Regions from separate parts of the Homo sapiens genome. Here regions 2, 3, 4, 5 and 6 are each linked to region 1. The links are contacts of gene promoters, found by promoter capture Hi-C in human tissues and cell types (Jung and others, 2019). All regions are on one chromosome and are shown on one strand. The core of a region is centred on a gene start or on the middle of the fragment in contact, and the rest is flanking DNA. Distances in the headings are between cores, read along the strand shown.

Evidence for each region. Contacts are between HindIII fragments. The study calls those that stand out against the background at their distance.
Region 2: a contact is called between a fragment that was not itself captured here and the fragment with the promoter of NAT10 in region 1, in 2 of the 25 tissues and cell types used here (lymphoblastoid cells and spleen).
Region 3: a contact is called between a fragment that was not itself captured here and the fragment with the promoter of NAT10 in region 1, in 4 of the 25 tissues and cell types used here (IMR-90 fibroblasts, hippocampus, lymphoblastoid cells and 1 more).
Region 4: a fragment that was not itself captured here is called in contact with the fragment with the promoter of NAT10 in region 1 in 1 of the 25 tissues and cell types used here (spleen).
Region 5: a contact is called between a fragment that was not itself captured here and the fragment with the promoter of NAT10 in region 1, in 1 of the 25 tissues and cell types used here (liver).
Region 6: a contact is called between a fragment that was not itself captured here and the fragment with the promoter of NAT10 in region 1, in 1 of the 25 tissues and cell types used here (lymphoblastoid cells).

The regions. Positions count from the first base shown.
Region 1 is chr11:34,103,391-34,107,217 of GRCh38, reverse strand. NAT10 (N-acetyltransferase 10) reads right to left here and starts at 1,589. Exons shown (of 29, transcript NM_024662.3): 1 at 1,426-1,589. RefSeq lists an enhancer at 1,377-1,836. The HindIII fragment of the contact is 6,988 bases long and covers 1-3,827 here.
Region 2 is chr11:34,334,677-34,338,503 of GRCh38, reverse strand. All of the region lies in intron 1 of ABTB2 (ankyrin repeat and BTB domain containing 2), which reads left to right. It also overlaps the pseudogene MMADHCP2. Among named protein-coding and RNA genes, the nearest start is that of ABTB2, 21 kb to the left of the region's middle. The HindIII fragment of the contact is 6,139 bases long and covers 1-3,827 here.
Region 3 is chr11:33,863,962-33,867,788 of GRCh38, reverse strand. It overlaps LMO2 (LIM domain only 2), which reads left to right. Exons shown (of 6, transcript NM_005574.4): 5 at 2,972-3,187. Among named protein-coding and RNA genes, the nearest start is that of LMO2, 26 kb to the left of the region's middle. The HindIII fragment of the contact is 9,832 bases long and covers 1-3,827 here.
Region 4 is chr11:34,283,736-34,287,562 of GRCh38, reverse strand. The region is part of intron 1 of ABTB2 (ankyrin repeat and BTB domain containing 2); the gene reads left to right. Among named protein-coding and RNA genes, the nearest start is that of ABTB2, 72 kb to the left of the region's middle. RefSeq lists enhancers at 2,045-2,545, 2,546-3,046. The HindIII fragment of the contact is 3,486 bases long and covers 33-3,518 here.
Region 5 is chr11:34,254,901-34,258,727 of GRCh38, reverse strand. All of the region lies in intron 1 of ABTB2 (ankyrin repeat and BTB domain containing 2), which reads left to right. Among named protein-coding and RNA genes, the nearest start is that of ABTB2, 100 kb to the left of the region's middle. The HindIII fragment of the contact is 4,651 bases long and covers 1-3,827 here.
Region 6 is chr11:33,970,477-33,974,303 of GRCh38, reverse strand. No RefSeq gene overlaps it. Among named protein-coding and RNA genes, the nearest start is that of CAPRIN1, 79 kb to the left of the region's middle. RefSeq lists a silencer at 2,948-3,242. The HindIII fragment of the contact is 6,594 bases long and covers 1-3,827 here.

The DNA of each region.
Region 1 (3,827 bases), core at 340-2,839:
CGAAACCCCGTCTCTACTAAAAATACAAAACTTAGCCGGGAGTGGTAGTGGAGCTGCAGGAGAGGCTGAGGCAAGAGAATCACTTGAATCCGGTAGGCGGAAGTTGCAGTGAGCCGAGATGGTGTGCCATTGCACTCCAGCCTAGGCGACAGAGTGAGACTCCGTCTCAAAAAAAAAAAAAAAAAAGTTCTGTGATTACCTACAGTAAAATACTGCATCATCCCAATAAATACATCAAAAAAACCATCAGAAATATCACTGTAAAAGTAACATGCTACTTAGATGTAAAAGTGACATGCTACTTAGAAACTCTGGTACCTACTGCATTATAAACATAAAGCTCATTTACTGAAACTTACCATACCTTAACTGTCCCTTCTAACCTTCCAATCCAAACAGATTTTAGCATATGTCTTACTATAAAACACTAAGTCACTGTCAAGGACCCCAATTTATACGTAAAGGAGAAAGTATAAAGAATTCAAATATCCCGAGGCAGAAAAACGACAGACAGAATTCACACTCAAGTCTTCCTGACTCCAAAGCCTGAGCTCTTCCCAGTTCGCCAATCTTCCCAACTTGTAAACCTTGTGTTGCCGGCCACATAAAGATCCCGCAAAAATCAATCAACAACTAATTAATGGGGGCTGCCTTTTGCTCTAGCTACTGTGGGAGCCCCAGAAGTAGTACCACAAGGCCCTTGACTTCAAGCTTGCATTCTTCTTGAAGAAGGTATTTAAGAGAATGAGATGAGGAACAAGAACACAGGTAAAATTAGATGTAAAAAAAAAAAAAATAGCTATACTGAGGGACCGGTCAGATGAAGGAAGGGCTGAGATTACTATGGGCTGAAGCTGTCATGGAAGGCCTGGATGGGGAAGGCCTTGAAGGAGATGATTATTTTTCGCTCACTCATTCGTCTATCTACACATAACATCTATGTGGCAGGCACCATTTTAGGTGCACTGGCAAACAAAACCAAGTCCTGAATGTGACTGCTGAATAAAGAGTATAAAGGAATGTGCACAGTGAAGGATTTAAGAACGTGGAAGGATCTGGAATCAGATTACCCTAAGTATAATGCCCAGACCTGCAGCCAGGCACTGCGGGCAAGCTCCACGGAAAACAACTGTTGTCACCCACCCATTCACCCCGACTCCCCAGTTACAGGCACTACTTAGAGGTGGTTATCGAGCCACGCAAATCCCCGAGGACGCTCGAGAAGCACGCGCCGAGAGCGGCTGCGTATTGGAGAGGTGATTCTGTTATCTTGGAGCGCCCCAAAAGAGGGGTGGAGGACAAACGGCGTAGGCCAGGTATCCGTCCGGATGCAGAGCCTTCATCCTGAGGCCGGTCCCCTCTCGACCCAGGAAGAACACAGACACCGATCTTGGCATCCATACCCGGCCCTCCCGCGTTGGGTACCTGCGCCCCGAGCCCGGGGGATCCCAGCCAGTGGAGAAGGGGAAGCACGTGGGAGCACGGAACAACTCCGAAAGAGAAGGCACAGCTGACTGCCCCTAGCGTATGCCTGGTGTCCGGGTCACGTAGTAAGCCTGGCTCCGCGGCACGCGTCCCTCTCAGGAACTGGTAGACAGCACGTGCGCAAGCGCATTAAAGTCGCAGAGATGGCGAGCGAGAAGGGACCTTCCTCAAGGCTGTCGCTGAGTAATGACGTAAGCCACCAGAAGCGGAGCTGAGGCCTAGATGTCCACTGCGGTTGCGCATTTTAGTCCCACTGCTCGCGGTAGCTGGGTGTTGGCTGCGGTTTGCCTCTTCACTCTTCATATCCCAGCTAAAGTACCTCGGCTAAGAAGGGCAAAATAGATGTCCGCACCCCAGGGCCTGCCCACGTAGGTCCAGGGTTTTCAGCGTCAGCCTGGTTACGCGAAACGCGACGGATCCAACGATTTGTGTTCAATTTAACCGATCCCCGTTAAGTTGAGGAAACTCGGCCAACAGACCTATTTTATTGGTTTCGCTTGGCCCTCCACCCCCACAGTACTGATCTTACAGATGGGAATCCTGTAATCTACCCATGACTGCGGCCGCTGTACTTTGCAGGCTCCCATTAGGCCTGTATATGGTCGTCAAATGAAATTACTCCCCCTGGGCTTCCAGTGAACTCCAAGAACATGACTACAGGGACAACCTATACATAGTGTTGCATTCTTGACTTTGGGGCAGATCGCTGAACTTCAAAAAACATTATCAACTGCTTGATGTTTCCTCCTGGATACCGCAAATGTCTGAATCCAAACCCCTTCCCCAGATACACTTTTAATGTCATCAGCAGCACTACCCATTTAATCCAACATCCATCATGAAATTTTTTAGTTCATTCAGCAAAATGTGAATATGCCCACGCACTATTCTGCTCACAAGGGATAGTGTCCAAAATGTTCCTGCCCCTCGTGGTTAATTCTAGGTTAAGTTTTAAATGCTATTAAGCAGAAGTATCCAGTGAGTAAAGTGACTAAGGATACTATTTTAGAAACGAACACTGAAGGCCTCTGACGGGGTGACACTGGATGGAACAAGGACCTGAAATTTAGAAAGAATGAGCCCTGAGAATATGAGTGAAAAACTTCCCCGTGCCAAAGATGTACATACAAAAGCTCCAAGATGGGGGAGTCCTGGCAAAGCAGTCAGTGTGGCCAAAGCAGTGGGCAAGTGAAGGACCAGATTTAGAATTTAATTCTAGTCATGATGAGAAACCACTGGAGTTTGTGGGGGACAGGGAAATGAGAAAATCTGCTTTGCCCTCTTAAAAGGCTTCCTGTTATGCAAAAACTAAATCACAGGAAGGCAAAAGTAGAAAAAGGAGAACAATTATAAGCTATTGTAGTCACCTGTGCTAGGATGGTAGTTGTGGTAGTAGTTAGAAGTATAAGATAACTCTGGATATTCAAGTTAGAACCACGTGGACTCACTTAAGGATTAGATGCAGGTTATAAAAGTACATTGAAGATGGCACCCAAAACATTTGCTCTGAGCAACTGGATGAATGAACAACTGGTGTTGGGTAATCAAGGAGTTGACTTGGAATATTGAGAAATTCATATCAAGATGTTGAATATGAGTTTTGAGAGGTTTGGGGCCTAGAAATATTCAGGACTAAAATGCTGATCATATTCAAAATCATGGGATTGGATCAGATCACCCAGGGAAGAACACAGCTAGAGATGAAGTCTGACATCCAAGACCTGGAGAAATCAGCAAAGGATACTGAGTAGTGACCAGTGAGATAGGGAATCCATAGAATCCATTCACTACCACCACCCCATCCGCACCTTAAGTTGGAATCCATTTCTCACATGGGCCACTCCAACAAGCCTCCTTACCATCTCTTGGTCCATATATGTTGTTCATTGCATTGAATGTTCTTTAAATGGTAACTTTATTAAGTGAGCCACCAACCCCACCCCAAACAATACAGCCTTTTTTTTTTTTTTTTTTTTTTTTTTTTTTTTTTTTTTTTTGTGAGACGAAGTCTCGCTCTGTCGCCCAGGCTGGAATGCAGTGGCGCGATCTCTGCTCACTGCAACCTTCACTTCCCGGGTTCAAGCGATTCTTCTGCCTCAGCCTCTCAAATAGCTGAGACTACAGGCGCATGCCACAACGCCTGGCTACTTTTTTATTTTTAATAGAGACGGGATTTCACCATATTGGCCAGGCTGGTCTCAAACTCCTGACCTCGTGATCCACCCGCCTCGGCCTCCCAAAGTGCTGGGATTACAGGCACAAGCCACCACACCCGGCCCAACACACAGCTTTAAAACCTTCAATAGTTTGCAACTGTTCTTAAGAGACAAAACATGGGATGC
Region 2 (3,827 bases), core at 633-3,132, 230 kb before region 1:
GCTGGTCTCAAACTCTTAACCTCAAGTGATCTACCCACCTCGACCTCCCAAAGTGCCAGGATTACAGGTGTGAGCCGCCATTCCCGACCAGAACATCTGTATTTTTTTTTTCTTTTCTTTTTTGAGAAGTGGTCTCACTCTGTCACCCAGACTGGAGTGCAGTGGTGCAGTCTCAGCTCATTGCAACCTCCATCTCCTGAGTTCAAGCAATTCTCCTCCCTCAGCCTCCTAAGTAGCTGGGATTACAGGCATGCGCCACCACACCCAGCTAATTTCTGTACTTTTCATGGAGACAGGGTTTCACCATGTTGGCCAGGCTGGTCTTGAACTCCTGATCTCAGGTGATCCACCCTCCTTGGCCTCCCAAAGTGCTGGAATTACAGGTGTGAGCCACTGTGCCTGGCCGACATCTGTATTTTTAAAGCAACTCTTGCGGCGATTCTAGATAAACGGGCAGGTTTGTGAATTCCATCTACATCACTGGGGGTGGATTTTATTCTGCGCTCCTCTCACAGTATGTATGGGGCAAAGGACCCTCTTGAGGATGTACAGTTTGGGAAAGGCCAGTCTTTGAGGGTCTTCTCTGTGGGTGGTAAGATGGAGATCATGGTTAGGGTGATTTGAGTAGGGGGAGGTGGGGAGAGGTGTTAGAAAGATAACCAATGTTTATTGGATGCTATCTCGTTTAATTTTTCCAACCAAATGTGATGAGTCGGTGGTGATAAAAATATAGGTTGTTATTTGCCGAATGCCTACTATGAGGTGAGCAGGACACTAGTGATTTGCATGCAGTATCTTGTGGAATCCTCACTACAGCCTGTGAGCTGTAGGTCACATTATTTATCCTCATTTTACAAATGAGGAAACTGAGGCCTTGAGATAGTTGAAATGACTTGCTCGAGGTCACCCATACACACAAGTAGCAGAGCCAGCGTTTGAGATTAGTACTGTCAGACTTCAAAGCCCACGTTTTCCATGCTGAAAGTTTTAATCAAAAGCATTAGGCTATTGGGTCAAATAAGAATCCTGCATTATAAGTACAGTGTCAGAATTTTTTGAGAAAGCTGCTTGTGCCATCTTTCCTCAAGGTACGGCCCTTTGGCCTTTCCAGTCCTGGCTTTGAGAACCTTGTTATTTCCCTAGGCTGAGACCAGCAGCCAGTCAGCTGTGCCCGTCCTAAGGCTGTCTGTGTTGTGGTCTGCTGTTCCTCCTCCTCAACCCCTGCCTCCTTCCCTACACAGCCCCTGCATGCAACTCTTCTCCCCAGACAGGCGCAGAATCGGGGCCTTCCTCAACAAATAAGCCAGGTTCCGGAAGTGCTGCAGTTTCCACCCAGGTGCAAGCCCAGCACAGGCCTCCTCTTAGCCAGCACTCATCCGAATCCACTCACTTGCACTCAGGTGGTTGTCCTCCTCAGTAAACTGAGAAGCAGTAGGGCCTTGTGATTGACGGTGTGGGTATGAAGCTGGACTGCCTGCATTCAAATCTTGGCTCCACTTCTTCTTGGACAAATTACTTCATATCTCGGTGCCTCAGTTTACTTGTCTGTAAGATAGGGATAATCCTGTTTCCCTCATATGATAGTTGTGGACAAGATTAAATGAACTACACCTCGTAAAATGCTTGGAACAGGACCTGGTGTGTGAGTCTCCCGTATGTTAGTCATGATGATGGTGATGATGATTACCAGTTTGGGGGTTATCTTTGGCCACCCTTCCTTTGGCATGGGGAGGGAGCCCACCCATATGCAAGCATTAACCCTGAGTCTTACAGTAGGGAAATAAGGGCTTTGGAAACAAACCCGGGTCTAACTGCAGGTAAGCTGCTTTTTTTTGTTTGTTTGTTTGTTTTGTTTTTTTTTGAGACAGGGCCTCCCTCTGTCACCTAGGCTGGAGTGTAGTGGTACGATCATGGCTCATGACAACCTCAAACTCCTGGGCTCAAGTGATCTTTCCACCTGATCCTTCCAAACAGCTGGGACTACAGGCACAAGTCACCACACCCAGATAATTTTTTAAAATTTTTTATAGAGATAAGATCTCACTATGTTGGCCAGGCTAGTCTCAAACTTGTGGCCTCAAGCAATCCTCCTGCCTCAGCCTCCCAGAATGCTGTGCCTGGCCTGGCTGCTTTTTTAATGTGGTGCTAGGCAAGTACCTCAACCTATTTGTTTTTTAATCTATAAACTTGGAATGATAGTAGTACCTGCCTTATGGTGTTGTAAATGTGAAATGCAAAAGTGTAAACAATGCTTCTCAGAAGGTGCATGGGCTCAGCTGACATTGAATGAATAGGAGGAAAAATTAGTTGAATAAGCTTTAGTAGTAAGTGAAAAAAATAAGCTCAAAAGATTATATTACAGCACAATACAATGTAGAGAAATTAAAAACAAATATTGGATGGCAGGAACGTCAGGTTCTGGGACAGCTGGAGACAGTGGTGGTGACTGGAATAACTTTACCAAAGGAAAGCTATTTAGTGAACTGTCCCCTCCAGTAGAGTTGGCCAATGTGCTTTGTAACAGAGCCAGACTGTTTTCCTATCTCCCAGGATTTTACTCTTTAGTTAAAACGTTGGCAATCCCAAAGCCTTTTCAACCGCAGGATTGTCAGGTTTAGGTGTCTCATGTGGCCGCTCTACCTCCAGATATATGCTCTCAAAAGGTGTGGCCTGATGAAACTATGGGACCGTTTGGACCTCAAGATCAGAGGTTCAAGCTTCCTGGGATCATAGGTTTTGATTGTCACCTCAATGGGACTGCTTCACAGAAGAAAAGCCTGCTTTATAAAACTTTGCCTGATGTTCTAGCAGAAACTTTATCAAGTGAAAGACACAAGTTTGTGATGACACAATATGTGAATGAATTTCAGGGTAATGATGCACCTGTTGAACAAGAAATTAACAGTGCAGAAACTTAACTTTGAAAGTGCCAGAGTGGAGTGTGCAATACAAACGTGTCCAGAATTGTGGCGAAAAGATTTTGAATCACTGTTTCCAGAAGTAGCTAATAGCAAATTAATCATTCTGACTGTAACACAGAAAACTAAGAATAATATGACTGTTTAGAGTGAAGAAGTAGAAACTGAAAGAGAAGTGCTCTTAGAAAAGTTCATCAATGTTGCTAAGGAAATTTGCTGTACTCTTTGTGCTGAGGGATATTGGGCTGACTTTACTGACCCATCATCTGGTTTGGCATTTTTTTGGACCATATACAAACAACAATCTTTTTGAAACTGATGAATGCTACCGACATTTAGGATTCTCTGTTGATGACCTTCGATGCTTAAAGTGATTCGTCATAGTCTCTGGGGTACCCGTGTAGTTGTAGGAAGCATCTTCACTAATGCAACACCAGACAGCCATATTATGAAGAAATTAAGTGGAAATTAGCGGAAATGTCCATTCATTTGCTGTATTATTTGTATGTAATATTTGGGTTGATCTATAAACACTGTCAGACTAAAGTTTTTAAAATATACTTATTTCTATTTATTTCAGCATTTATGAATTTACAACATTGGTAAGTGATATGGGATTTTAAAATTGCAAATGTTCATTATTCATATCATTGAATACATGTTGAGCACACCCACATTGTATAGGTTGTGGTAATTAGCTTGTAACTAGGGTATTATCTGTTATTGTTATTTCTCCCCTTTATTGGAAAAAGGCCTCAGTTTTAATTACTTTCTTCCAAAAATAAATCACACATTTGGTTACGAAAAAAAAAAAAAACCCAAATATTAAGATGTGCTGAAGGAGTACATTACAGGCACAGTAAATACCATGTAAGAGAGAAAGTGAGGGGATGGGAAACACGGTTGATG
Region 3 (3,827 bases), core at 525-3,024, 240 kb after region 1:
TGCTTCTTTCAAAGTTTGTGCTTTTTCACTGAGGTTAGAAACTGAAACATCCTAACTTCCTAATACAACAGATATCTACTGCTGGAGGCTCACCAGCTCCTTCCTTCACTTCACTATTTGCCCAACGAAGACAGATTCTGATCAAAGAGGGACAAGCCAGTTGAGAAATTGCTGCAGCACATTCTCCCCATGCCCTTAGAAATTGTTATGATTGTCCCAGAAATCCAGGCTTAAATGATACTCAGGTGTAATATTCAAGATAAGGGTCTGGGAGAATATAAAATATTAATTTGAGGGTGAATCAATCTAATTCAGTCATTGTCTTGGATTGTCCACTAAGTATAATGTGATATTATCATTAATTAAGTATAGAAAGACAGAGCCAATATCTTATACTTTACTTCTCCATCTCATCTCAGGCCATCACCGTAACTCTTTTACTTTACATTCCTCCTGTTGTCCAGTATCCTACTAGATGCTTCATTGTGTACTTCCTCAAATCCAGCTTGGGTCATTACAATCAGCATCTCCAAATTACAGATGGAGACTTGCCTAGCTATATGCAAATGAAACATTTGGACAGAAAGCCAGCCAGAATTCATGAACACAGATTCCCTTGCTGTGCTACTGGTGGCCCCCACTGCCTCCCCTGTGAGTAACAAGAGCAGTTCATTTGAATTCCAGGCAGTTTTGCACCAGCTAAGGGCAAATTCTCTTCTTTCACAGTCCTTTGGCAGCATCAACATCGGGACATCCAATGTGCGTCCAGGTTCCATGAGTGGTTTTGAAAGCCCAGAGTAAGACCATGGGCTGTGGAAAGAGAAGAGATGCAACTCTGAGTTGATACACATGAAAAAGCTAGGGTATTAGTTATTAGAAGGGGAAATGGCAGTCCTTATATACAATCTGTAGAAACAAAGGAAAGAAAGCAAGGCTTCAGTGAATGAAACCTCGTCTCTACTTAAAATAAAAAAAATTAGCTGGGCCTGGTGGTGGACACCTGTAATCCCAGCTATTCGGGAGGCTGAAGCGGGAGAATCACTTGAACCCAGGAGGTGGAGGTTGCAGTGAGCCGAGATTGTGCCATTGCACTCCAGCCTGGGCAATAAGAGTGAAACTGTGTCTCAAAACAAACAAACAAAAAACTATAGTTTTGAATTTTTTTGAGCTAGGGTCTCACTGTGTTGTCTAGTCTAGAGTGCAGTGCTCACTGCAGCCTCAACTTCCTGGGCTCAGATGATCCTCCCACCTCAGCCTCCTGGGTAGCTGGGACTACTGGCTCATGCCACCAAGCCTGGGCAATTTTTTATATGTTTTGTAGAAACAGGATTTTGCCACGTTGCCCAGGCTGGCCTCAAACTCCTGGGCTCAAGTGATCCTCCTGCCTTGGCCTCCCAAAGTGCTGGGATTACAAGCGTGAGCCACTGTACCTGGCCATTTTTTTTCCCCAGATAAACTAACTTGAGCTTCCCATTTTCTTGTTCCAAAGATGATAGTCTCATGAAGTGCTGTTACACTGTGTCTAGAAAGTGTGGGCATGGCTTTAGCACTCCTAAATATTCATAAGGAACACTTCATACTTCACATGACGGGATCACCTGAAGTTGTCAGAGTGTTATAGACATTGAGCCACCTAGCCTCCTGTCCCCAAGTATAATGGCTGCTGGGCTTTATGGGCACAGACCAATTAGGACACAAGGTCGCCTGGTAAGTTAGTACCAGTTAGAAATAGGAGACATGGATTTATACCTGCAGGGTACCCAGGAGGAAACTCCCTTTGGGAATTTTACAGATGGAAGAAGGTCTGTTTTTTGAAACATAATAGATTTTTAAGAAATAGATTTGTGTTTAAGTAAGGTTCCAGAGAACACTTGCTAATTATTATAAATCAACACGTATTAAGTGTTTGCTGTGTCCCATGTGGGGGACACTAGAATAATTCCTTCCACTCCTTTATTTTCTTTTAGCAAAGTTATTTATTTTTAAATGTAAAAATGTATTCAGATTCCAGTGAAGCAAAGTGAACAGGAGATGCTATGCATGGCGTATTAACGAAAGAACACGTGTCACAGCCTATTAACAATTGCTGGATTGAGATGTCAGTGTCTGTTTAATTGCCTTCCACTCTCTTTGAAATAATCATTGCCCCCACTTCATTTTCTTCCTCAAATCAACTTTATCCAAATCAATTTTACTCTTATAAAAATGTTCAGGTAAGGAAAGAAAGGCCTATTTGATGTCCTTCGTGTAACAATGGCCTTACGATATGGGATTTTCCTCCAAGTATTCCTTCAGTAGGAAGAATGGAAAATGGAATTTCTGTAAAAAAGTAAAATTAGGAGAATTCCTATTATGTCCTGATGGAATTTTGATTTTGGAAAGAGAAAGCAACCTAAAATAATTTTTGGTCTCATTCTTCTTTCTTCCTCACCTCTGCTTTTGTGCAGTTGGTTAGGGCTGGAGGGAGGATGGCACTGGGGATTTGCAGATTCTTAGCACTCTGGGTCATCTGCTGCCCTGGCAGTGAGCGACTCTTTTAGTCCAGAGTGCGTCCTTTGAGGTTAGGCAGTGCCCTTGGGTGTCCAGGTTATGGGAGGAGGAAAATGAGGGAGATCTGTGAAGATAGAGTCAGCGGGGAGAGTGGGAAAAAGCAGAAGGAGACCAGAGGTGCCCAGGTAGTGCTGGGCATGGGCAGGGGCACAGTGCCACCTGCAATTGCCTTTGATGCCTCTTGGTGCCCTGTGTTTACTTCTTAGACATCTAGGGAGTAAGGTCTGGCTCTTTCCCGTCTTAACCCAAGGTTGGTTGGGACTCTGCAGTCTGGCCAAGGGATGTGTTGTCCTGTCCCTTCTCCCTTAGGTCACTGAAAGGCAGTCAGGTGAGATGCCCTGTCTGGCCCAAAACGATCTCGGACCCTCGGTGCTGGTCTCACTCTGGTGAGGCTGTCCCTGATGCTTGGCCTTCTCTCCAGGGAACCAGTGGATGAGGTGCTGCAGATCCCCCCATCCCTGCTGACATGCGGCGGCTGCCAGCAGAACATTGGGGACCGCTACTTCCTGAAGGCCATCGACCAGTACTGGCACGAGGACTGCCTGAGCTGCGACCTCTGTGGCTGCCGGCTGGGTGAGGTGGGGCGGCGCCTCTACTACAAACTGGGCCGGAAGCTCTGCCGGAGAGACTATCTCAGGTACCCTCCCCGGCACTCCACTGGGCCCTCGGAAGGGAGGCTGGGTGGTCCATGGACATCTGCAGTCGGTGTGTGTTGCCCCTTACCCTGCTCCAGGCTCGGACACCACCTATAGAAAGAGGTCAGACTGCAGAGGCTGAGTCTCAGCTCCTGTGCTGAGAAGCAGAGGGCATTTCTTCCTGTTTGAGAAGCATGTTCTCAGGGTTACGTTCCTATGTGGTAAAATACTAATATCTTTAAAGGCAAGAGAATTGTATACCCAAAATTCAGAAAAGTGCTTCCCTTGGGGAGCGGGAGAAGCTAGGGGATGGGATTGAGGAGGAGTACACACGGAGGATCAGAGGGACTGGGAGTGTTTCTAAGTTTGGAGGTGGGCTCTGAGGACCTCATTTGAATGCTTCAGAACATATATGTATGTTATAAATTTTTTTTGTATGACTCCAGTATTATATGATGAGAAATTTAAAAATAGAAAGCATATGGAGCTCCAAGCATTGACTCATAGCAGGAAGGCAGTCTTCGAAGAGCAGAAAGGCAAAGGCCCTGTAGGCAGTTGGAGGTTTGAGTCCCAATACCATTGCTTCCCAGCTTGGTGGCCTTGGGCAAGTTATTTAACCTTCCTAAGCCTCGATTTCCTTAT
Region 4 (3,827 bases), core at 526-3,025, 180 kb before region 1:
GAGGAGATCTGTTTATTTATTTATTTGGCAGAGTCTTGCTCTGTCACCCAGGCTGGTGTGCTCTTAGCTCACTACAGCCTCCACCTCCCAGATTCAAGCGATTCTTCCACCTCAGAGTCCTGAGTAGCTGGGACTACAGGCGCACATCATTAATTTTTGTATTTTTAGTAGAGACAGGGTTTTGCCATGTTGGCCGGGCTGGTCTCAGGCTGGTCTCAAACTCCTGGCCTCTCAAAGTGCTAGGATTACAGGCATGAGCCACCACACCCAGCCAAGAGATCTCTTCTTTTGCTGTGTATATTTTTTAAATTATCATACAGTAAATTTGACTTTTAAGGGTGTGTGTACAGTCCTATGAGTCTTTTTTTTTTTTTTTTCAATAAAGACAAGGTCTTACTATGTTGCCCAGGCTGGTCTTGAACTCCTGGGCTCAAGCAGTCTTCCCACCTCAGCCTCCCGAAGTGCTGGGATTACAGGCATGAGCCATGACAGCACCCAGCCCAAGTCCTATGAGTTAACACATGTATTCATTTGTGCAACCACCACCATGATGAGGAGGCAGAACAGTTCCATCCCTCCAGAGCTCCCTCCTGCTATGCCTGATAGTCACACCCTTCCCTCCCCCAGCCCCGGCAACCACCAATCTGTTCTCCATGGTGGTAGTTCTGTCTTGTGTGAATATCATATAAATGGAGTCATGCAGTATATAAGCTTTTGAGGCTGGTTTCTTTTACTCAGCATAATGTCCGTGAATATGTTTCTAAGCCTCCAAGGGGAGACATGTTGAGAGTCCTAGCTAAAAGGCTTTTGTTTTGCTGGGAATGATGAGAAGAGCAGAAACAGCATGAAAATGGTGATGGATGGTGAGAACCAAAAACAGGAATGGGAGATCTAGAGGTGGATGCTGGAAGAAGGGTGCTGGCGAAGGAACCTAGGAATGGAAAGGGGGATCTTTTTTAAAATATTTTGAGGCCGGGCATGGTGGCTCATGCCTGTAATCCCAGCACTTTGGGAGGCCAAGGCAGGTGGATCACTTGAGGTCAGGAGTTCAAGACCAGCCTGGACAACATGGTGAAACCCCATCTCTACTAAAAATACAAACATTAGCTGGGTGTGGTGGCGGGTGCCTGTAATCCCAGCTACTCAGGAGGCTGAGGCGGGAGAATCGCTTGAACTGGGGAGGCAGAGGTCGCAGTGAGCCGAGATCGTGCCACTGAACTCCAGCCTGGGTAACAGAGCAAGACTCCGTCTCAAATAATAATAAAAATAATAAAGTAGGGTCTCACCGTGATGCCCAGGCTCGTCTTGAACTCCTGGCTCCAAACGATCCTCCTGCCTCTGCCTCCCAAAGTGCTGGGATTACAGGTGTGAGCCACCACATCCAGCCTAAAATTTTTCTTTACTAATTTTTTTTTTTTTGAGACAGGGTCTTTCTATGTTGCCCAGGCTGGCCTCAAACTCCTGGGCTCAGGCAGTCATCCTGCCTCTGCCTCCCAAGTAGCTGAGACTACAGGCGATTATAATGTTTTCTTCTATAAATGTGCAATGTAAATCTCTTTTGTTTTCCCCAACTATAGTATTGGGTCATTGAGTTGAATTTATTTGGGCAATGTACCAAGAGACTCCTTTCCCAAGGTGCAAGTAGGCCCAGGACAGAGGCTGCCCATCAAGTTTAGACCATCCCAGTTACAGACACAAGATGCAGGAGGGGAACTTTTAGCTTAGTAAAAGAAGAAACAACGGAGTAAAAGAAGTGCTTGCCTCTCAGTAACCTGGGCATCTCTTCCCAAAAAGCAGTCAGAAGCACCCAGCCAATTGAGATGTCATAGAGGCCCATGCTGGGAGAGTGGTTGGAGAGCGCTACCCAGCTCTTAAAAATACTGAAATCCCTGAGTGAATCTAGCATTTTGTGCACGTGTGACGGCTCCAGGGTAGAGCAGCAGGCCCCTGTGTTCCCAGCCATGCTATCTTAAGGATGAACCCTCGCCTGGCCTCCCTAAGATTGCACGTATAGAATGGCCTTGTAAACTACAAACCTTTTGAGGTGTTTTTGTTATTACTGTCCATTTCTGCACCTTTGTGGTTAAGAAGGCCTGCAAGATAATTAAAAGAGGGGAAAAAAGGGCCACCCTGTTTTCCGTTGGCAAGGATGCATTGCCATGTTCCTCTGGTTACCGCCAGAGCAAAGCACGCACTAGGTCCTGCTATATAATGATGAATCCCCAGGGACCCCCGATAGTGATCGATAGCACCCGCCTAACTCTGGGGCTTGCATAATGAGCTGCGTAGCCCTGCCAGAGTCATCATCCAGCCTCGGGGAAACCTCCCCTCCCCCACTGTCCACTTGTACAGCAAATGTCCCCCTCCCCACCGGTCCCCTCGGTTGGGTTTCCTTTTGATTGGCAGAGACCCTGTGATTTCCGCCTGGATTGCCTGACAGCCCCCCTCCGCCTGGTCTAATTATGCCAGGGCTGTTCTTGGGCCACAGCGACCCCAGGAAGGCTTTATCAGATTGTCCAACTGACCGTGACCAGATCTCCAGCACCTGCCTCTTTTGCTGACTGAGGATGGAAGGTGTTTACACACAGCGGAGCTGGCAGCTGATTGACTGGCCAGGGTCCTGGGCTGAGGACGGCCAGTCTGAGTGTCAGTGATGAAAAATGGGGTCTGCCTCTCCACCCAGCCTCATTAACACCCCTCTGGCTCCAGGCGGTATCAGGTGGGGTGTGTGCAGGCACACAGCCTGCTGCCAGTGTTCAGGGCCTCCTGACAGATTTCTGGCTGCAGTGCTGGACTTGGGTCCATCTCTTATCATTTTAATTTATTTACAAATATTTATTTATTTTATAAATGTTCCTATGTGTGTTTAAGCCCTCCGCTTTCTCCACCTCTCTGGTTACAGTTACCCATCCCCTGCTTCTTGTTCATCCGTCAACAACTCACCCTAAGTATGACCTCCTCACCTCTGTCTTCCACTCTCACACCTTTTCTTCCAGCGTCAGCTTTCATGGAAGCCAGTCAATAATTCCTGTTTGCAGGCCGATTTATTAGTGTGATTAAAGTTCTGTTTCTGAATAGAAGCTTTGGTGCTGCCTGCCTTTTCCAGGTACCCAAGGGTGATTCTGGTTATACAAAGAGGTTCTGTAAGGCAGCTCAGACATTGGGGCCAATCCTTCTGGTCACTCTGGCAAATGGCCCATTTTGATAAGAACATTAAATCATCCAAATCCTTTAGGGTTACACGGGGGTCATTTGCTCATTAATCACCAGTGGCCTGAGAAGCTAAAGGTTTCCCAAAGCTGAGCCATCTCTGCCCTACAGGATGATGTGACGTGGCCCATTGTCTCAGTTCAGCTGAGCATCCCTGGGCTGAGCCCAGTTCTTCTATCTGAGACATGGATTGGGCCTTACAGCCCAGAGTGAGGTCTCTGCACCAGCAGCATCGGCATTACCTGGGGGCTCGTTAGAAATGCAGACTCTCAAAAGCCCCACCATAGACCTCCTGTATCAGAGCCCTGTTTGGACAAGATCCCAGGGATTCATGTGCATGGCACAGTTTGAGATGCTCTGCATTATCAATCCAGGTAGGGAAGCCCTCCTTTAGATTTACCAAGAAGCTGGAGAACTCAGCAACTTACTTCCATAAAACTGGCTAGTGAAGCATTCTCTCTTCCTTCTGGCTTTAGAAAGGATCTTATTAGGAGATAAGAAAGCCAGTTGGAAGCCTGGTTGCTGAGAGTAAGGAACCAAATGTGGCCCCTGGGACTAAGTTTCCTGGCAGCTGTGTCTCCTTATTCTTGGGGAAATATTTTGCAGTTGAAAGACCA
Region 5 (3,827 bases), core at 752-3,251, 150 kb before region 1:
AGGCAGGAGAACTGCTTGAGCCCAGGAGGTGGAGGTTGAATTCAGCTGAGATCGCCCTGCTGCACTCCAGCCTAGGCAACAAGAGCAAGACTCCGTCTCAAAAAAAAAAAAAAAAAAAAAAAGAGCAGGCACTTCTGTAGTGCTCACTAGGCACAGTTCTAAGGACTGTGCATATTTTAACTCACAACTCTAAGAGGCAATTCCTACTGCTGTTTCCATTTGATAGATGGCACCAAAACACTGAGAAGTTAAATAAGTTGCCTAGAGCAACACTGGATTGTCTTCAGTCTACTATTGTGTCATTAATTCCATCTCTGTAAATCTTTGACAGGGGTATTTCTCATCTGTAAGACAGGTGTGATGGTACCTCCTCTTACCTCTCTCTCACTGTGAGGATTAAAGGGAAAAAAAAATGAAGTGGGATAGATATTTGTAAATTGTCATTCCATATTCAAATGACCTGTGGGGAAAACCTGTGAGGGATACACAGTAATAGTGGAGAACTGTTGGGATCAGTGACACAAAGTTTATAGGCCAACATCACAATCCATAAAGTATGCCCTGGGACCCTTAATCCTGAGATTTCTATGGGGACAACACAGATTGGAGTTATTGAGGCGGGTCCTGACAGTGGAGTTGCAGGGGTCATTAGAGAACTGCCTGAAGGCTCTGCTGCCCCTGCCTGGGCCTTGCCTCCTTGAGGGACTCTGGGCTGGGGACTCAGGGAGACTGGGGTAGCATGGCCTGTGACTGATTGGGATGTGCTTTGGAGGGATTAGGTGGGTCCATGTGATTATTAACAACCCCTAGGTAGAGAATATCTCCTCAAGGCCAGGTGCAGTGGCTCACGCCTGTAATCCCTATACTTTGGGAGGGTGAGGTAGGTGGATTGCTTGAGCCCAGGAGTTTGAGACCATTCAGACCATTCTGGGCAACATAGCAAGACCCTATCTTTACAGAAAATAAAAATAAATTAGCCAGATGTGGTGGTGTACGCCTGTAGCCCCAGCTACTCAGGAGGCTGACATAGGACAATGCCTGAGTCCAGGAGGTCGAAGCTGCAGTGAGCCATGTTTGCACCACTGCACTCCAGCCTGGGCAACAGAGCGAAATCCTGTCTCAAAAAAAAAGAAGTCACTCCTCAGTCGTATTAGCTGCATTTCAAATGCTCGATGATTGTGTGGGTTAGTGACTACTGTGTTGGACAGCACAGATACAGAGCACTGTCACCATTACAGAAAGTTCTAGAGGCTACCTGATTCATCTGAGTATATGATGGCAAGCCTTCTCTTTCCTTGGCTGGGTTCTGTGCCCGTTTCTAGTGTAAAAACTCTCCTCCACCTTCACCTCTTAGAGGCCTCCTGGAGATGTGGCGCTCTGGGTTGCTTTTGATAAGTACCAATTCTAAATGCTGCAGTCGCTTTTTCTTCCTTCTCTGCTGCCATAGAGCCACATCTTCCTGAGCCACGTGTGGCTCTTGGGTTCATTTTCTTTTCATTTTTTCCACCATGGTGTTCTGAATGGACAAGTCAGAATTCAGAGGTTGGTATTAAGACCTATCTTCATAACAAGCCCACTTCATCGGACCATAGGCCACCTGCTATTTGTACTAACACTTGGGGTCATTTCATGTGTGAGGAATAATGAAGTTGCACTGTATATTCAGAACTTTAATATTTCTTAAATAAGTTTGTGTTTTACCAGCTAAGCTGCTCAGAAGGCATTTGACTACTATGAGTGGCTCTGTGTGTAGATGAGCCCTGGTTGGGTAGCAGTTCAGAGCAACTCAAGAAATCTGGCCAGAGACAGGACAAACTCTGTCTCATCCTTGCAGCTGCACAGCCATGACAGTCCACAAAACGGAGAATTTGCCAGCAAGATTTTTTAGGTTGTAATTTTCCTCTTGGTTAGCCTGTGGCTCTCCGTCCGTCCCCTCCGGAGTGAAAGAGCGTGAGTGTTGAGATAAGAGACTGGGAAAATAGACTTCATGAACCATTTTTCACTTGGGAAACAAAAAAGTCATTGGTGATTTTGCCTTGAGTGTTTGGAACCTGACACCAACCTCGTCCTCCACCAAGCCCCCAAATGTCACACTGTACAGGTTGCCGACACCATGTCTCATTAGCGACTTGATTCTCCCCCAACCCTGGCTTCTTTTCCCAAACAAACCCCCTACAACTGGAAGGTCAGAACCCCGGACAGCTTTTTACACAGCCACCATATGGTGTTTGCTTTAGCACGGATCCACAAATGATGTGTTATTTCAGTGGAGGTGCAGAAAATTATATGACAAAACCGGGTTTGTTTCTCTGCTAGAAACCCAAGGCTGAAATACTGCAGTATTCCTTCAAGACTGACTCAGAAGACGAAAGGGAGCCTTTCCCAGAATTAGGGGGCATTCACCAGGGACCAGAAGGGAGGGGGGAGAAAGACAACATTGCACTGGTCACTAGTGGCTGGGCCAGTGGTTTATTTTCTGTCTGTGTTTTATTAAGTTTATGTTTTCCATCTGACTGTTCCTCGTGTGATTTATTTGTCTCTAGGTGCCCCCCGCCCCACCCCCCACAAGTAGATGATAAAACCGACGGCAGTGTGGACAACACAGTTGCTGAGACTCTTTGGTTGGATTTTACGCAGGAACAGAAATAGGTGTTGGGCTAGTGCCAGGGTGTTTTGTGAGGACTTAATCTCCACCTAGTGGGTTCTGCACCATTTTGGACTGAATGCTGATGTCCTGAAAACTGGGCTGGGTAGTGATGCCCGAAAGGAAATGATCAGGAGTTGGGTTTTACTTAAGAAGACATTTGGAATGTCCTTGAGGCCATTGTGGGATCACATTTCTCCCCCTCTATTTTTATGGCTCCTCGGATAAGACCGGTAGAGGAGGGGAAAAAAAATGTATTTAATTTCTGGGCGGGCCTGGTGGCTCACGCCTGTAATCCCAGCACTTTGGGAGGCCGAGGCGTGCGGATCACTTGAGCTCAGCAGTTCAAGACCAGCCTGGGCAACATGGTGAAACCCTGTCTCTACAAAAATATAAAAATTAGCCAAGTGTGGTGGCACGTACCTGTAGTCCCAGCTACTTGGGAGGCTGAGACACAAGAATTGCTTGAAGTTGAAGTTGAACTTGAGTTGAAGTTGAAATCGCTTGAGGTTGCAGTGAACTGAGATTGTGCCACTACACTCCAGCCTGCGCAACAGAGCGAGACTGTGTCTCAAAAAAAAAAAAAGAAGTTTTTAATTTCTGACTCACTTTTCTAATTTTTAGAAATATAACTTAGAACCATGGAGCAGCTTAAAGGATTTTGAATCCTGAGCACCTTGTCCTTTTTGATCTGAGGAGATCCCTGCCATGGGCTGTCTGTACCGTTCTCTGCTGGGTGCATTCCTTCCTTTTACTTCCCAGAGTTGAGGGGAAAGGTGAGAAAGTGATGTGGATCCTGATAGGGCTCCTGGGCAGGACAATTACTCTAGGCCCTTAGGCTAGAGGTCAAGTTTAGGAGAAGATCACACAATGGAAATAGTTTAGGAGTTTAGAGAGTGAAGTGCTTAATCCGATTCAGCTTGAGCCAGATCTCTGAATTTCAGTTTTCTCATCTGTAAATGGCATAAATGTGCTCTGTTTGCTTGTTGTGAACATTGAATGATATGGTATGGATGGAAGTAATTTGTGCAAAATTTGGCTTTATGCCTTTGTTGTCCGGTATAGTACCCACTAACCATATGTGGCTATTTACATTTAAATTAATTAAAATAAAATCAGGGCTGGGCATGGTAGCTCGCACCTGTAATCTCAGAGGTGTGAGGCTGGCAGATCACTTGAGGTC
Region 6 (3,827 bases), core at 894-3,393, 130 kb after region 1:
CACGCCTGGCCCTTCATCTTTAAATTGGGGCAAGAAAATGGTACCTTGTCTTATAAGATTTACATGAAGTTTAGATGAAATAGTCTAGGCAATTCATAATCCAGGAATTTAGTTATTCTTCACTAAATATTAGCTCTTAGGAGTGTAGATGGTCCCTGACTTATGATGGTTCCATTTAGAATTTTTCAACTTTGCAGTGGTGTGAAAGCGATACACGTTCAGCAGCAACCATACTTCAAGTACCCATGCAACCATTCTGTTTTTCACTTTTGGTAATGTTAAAATGGAAATGAGATATTCAACACTTTATTATAAAATTGGCTTCGTGTTAGATGATATTGCTTAACTGTAGGCTGATGTAAGTGTTCTGAGCATGTCTGAGTAGACTAGGCTAAGCTATGATGTTCAGTAGCTTAGGTGTACTAAATGCATTTTTAAAATTTATTATTTATTTATTTATTTATTTTGAGATGGAGTCTCGCTCCATCGCCCAGGCTGGAGTGCAGTGGCGCCATCGCCATTCACTGCAAGCTCCGCCTCCTGGGTTCACGCCATTCTCCTGCCTCAGCCTCCTGAGTAGCTGGGACTACAGGCCCCCGGCTAATTTTTTTTGTATTTTTAGTAGAGACGGGGTTTCACCTTGTTAGCCAGGATGGTCTTGATCGCCTGACCTTGTGATCTGCCCGCCTTGGCCTTCCAAAGTGCTGGGATTACAAGCCTGAGCCACTGCGCCCAGTTTTAAATGCATTTTTGACTTAGGATATTTTCAACTTAGTTTATCAAGATGTAACCCCATTGTAAGTAAGAAACATTTGCATTCCACAATAATAGTCATATGAAGATGGTACACTGTCCTAAAACAAGGGCTTTGTGGTTTTATTTTTTAATTTTTTACATTTTTAAATGTTTTTGAGATGGAGTCTTGCTGTGTCACCCAGGCTGGAGTGCAGTGGCATGATCTTGGCTCACTGCAACCTCCACCTCCAGGGTTCAAGCGATTCTCCTGCCTCAGCCTCCCGAGTAGCTGGGATTATAGGTGCATGCCACGATGCCTGGCTAATTTTTGTATTTTTAGTAGAGACGGGGTTTCGCCATGTTGGCCAGGCTGGTCTCAAACTCCTGACCTCAGGTGATCTGCCCACCTTGGCCTCCTAAAGTGCTGGGATTACAGGCATGAGCCACCATGCCTGGCCGGTAGTTTTATTTTAAAATTAACACGTGCTGTACCTTTACGGCAGAAAACTTAAAAAGCAGAGCAGAGAAAAACAACCACCACTCCAACAAAAAGATCGCAGCTGCTAACATTTTGGTTTGTGTCTTTTTGTTTTTTATTCTCCCAAGTATATGTACATCTTTTTCTATCTTTTCAAAATGTGATACTGTTCTACAGTATGCTTCCCCCTTCCTGGTTTTTTAAACTTAGCAATAGACTGTGAATCTTTCCCATGGATGAATTGCTTCTTAAAATAGATGTTCCATTGAAAGTAGCCATATCCTGGGCCGGTAGATTCGTTACTATTCTTTTCTTCTTCCTCTTTTTTTTTTTTTTTTTTTTTTTTTTTTTAGTTGAGACGGAATCTCGCTCTGTCGCCCAGGCTGGAGTGCGGTGGTGCGATCTCGGCTCACTGCAAACTCCGCCTCCCAGGTTCACGCCATTCTCCTGCCTCAGCCTCCCGAGTACCTGGGATTATAGGTGTATGCCACCACACCTGGCTAATTTTTGTATTTGTAGTAGAGACGGGGTTTCGCCATTTTGGCTAGGCTGGTCTCGAACTCCTGACCTCAGGTGATCTGCCCACCTCGGCCTCCTAAAGTGCTGGGATTACAGACATGAGCCACCACGCCTGGCCGGTGGTTTCATTTTAAAATTAACACGTGCTGTATGTTTACGGCAGAAAACTTAAAAAGCAGAGCACAGAAAAACAACTACCACTCCCAACAAAAAGATCACAGCTGCTAACATTTTGGTTTGTGTCTTTTTGTTTTTTATTCTCCCAAGTATATGTACATCTTTTTCTATCTTTTCAAAACGCGATATTGTTCTACAGTATGCTTCCCCCTTCCTGGTTTTTTAAACTTAGCAATAGACTGTGAACCTTTGCCATGGATGAATTGCTTCTTAAAATAGATGTTCCATTGAAAGTAGCCATATCCTGGGCCAGTAGATTCGTTACTATTCTTTTCTTTTTTCTTTTCTTTTCTTTTTCTTTTCTTTTCTTTTTTTTTTTTTTTGAGACGGAGTCTCGCTCTCTCGCCCAGGCTGGAGTGCAGTGGCGCGATCTCGGCTCACTGCAAACTCCGCCTCCCAGGTTCACGCCATTCTCCTGCCTCAGCCTCCCGAGTAGCTGGGACTACAGGCGCCCGCTACCACGCCCGGCTGAGTTTTTGTATTTTTTTTAGTAGAGACAGGGTTTCACCGTGTCAGCCAGGATGGTCTTGATCTCCTGACCTCATGATCCGCCCGCCTCGGCCTTCCAAAGTGCTGGGATTACAAGTGTGAGCCACCGCGCCCGGCCTCTTTTTTTTTTTTAAAGGTGCGGATGCCCATGGCTGTCCAAATCTGTGAAGCTCTGCACACTGCATTTCCTTCTTGGAAAATTAGCACGTGCATATTAGCATGTAGCAAGCTCTGCAAAGCCCTTTCGTAAACAAGCTCCTCGACTTTGATTAGATCAGTGTTTTCCAAACTGATTTAACACTGGAGCCACTTATTCTCATAACTCCTATTAATGTCTCAGGATTCATTTGGGGAAACACTGTTGCAGGCTGAAGCTTCTTTAAGAGGAAGGAGAAGGTCTTGTGCATTTTTGTTGTTTCCACGCTGCCTTACAACTGGGTTTTAAAGAAATTATGAAAAATGGGATTGGATTGATGAATTCACTTCTAACCAACAGCCACACACGTGTAACTTGGGGGCCAAGGTTAGAGGCTGGGGCTGCACTCCGGAGTGCCTCTCAGTGTAAAGCTAATTGGCCCCTTTGGGGGATGAACCTCTGAACTTGGCCTCGTTAGTGCCGGCACAGAACAGCTGAGTTGGTTTATCTGGTGCCATAAAATTGTTCTCTCACCCAGATTCTCATGCTGTCCTCCAGGTGGCAATGCTGGTTTGTCAACCTTCTGAGATAGCGCCTGATACTTGGGCCGAGCAAAGATGGAAATGGAAGGGAAGCAGATGCGGATGAGGAATGGAGTTGGGAGTGGAGTGATTATTGAAAATTAGAAGACACCCTGTCAGGTTTGCAGCTGACATGAAGCTGAAGCGCAGCCTCATACATTGGGTGTCCAGATTCAGATTTTAAGGAATCTTGAGGAACCAGTAAGCCACAAGTAAATATTACTAGCATTTATTGAGCACCAACTATGGGGCTTACAACGTGCCAGATCATTTCATTCATTGTTTCTTTTAATGCCCTCAACAGACCTATGAGGTAGGTCTTGGAGGTTGAAATAATGGAGCTGGAAATTGGACCTTGATTCCTAAGGCCTGGTATTGTATATGAGAGCTTTGCTAGACTGAAATAAGAGGATATTTACCAGGGATGAAACATGCAAAATGTTTATCCATCTATCTATCTATCTCTCTATCTATCTATCTATCTATCTATCTATCTATCTATCTGCCTATCTCTCATCTATCTCTCATTTCATTAGTGTAGGATGGGCCTGATAACATTTCATGAAATTAATACTAGGGTTTTTTTTTTTAAGTTAGCCACCTGCTAAATAAATCAGTTACAGTTCTGGACTGCATCCTTTAAATGACAACACTCAGATCAGGACAGTGGAGATATTTATTTCCTAGCTCTTCTTTTCATTCTCGTGGTCAC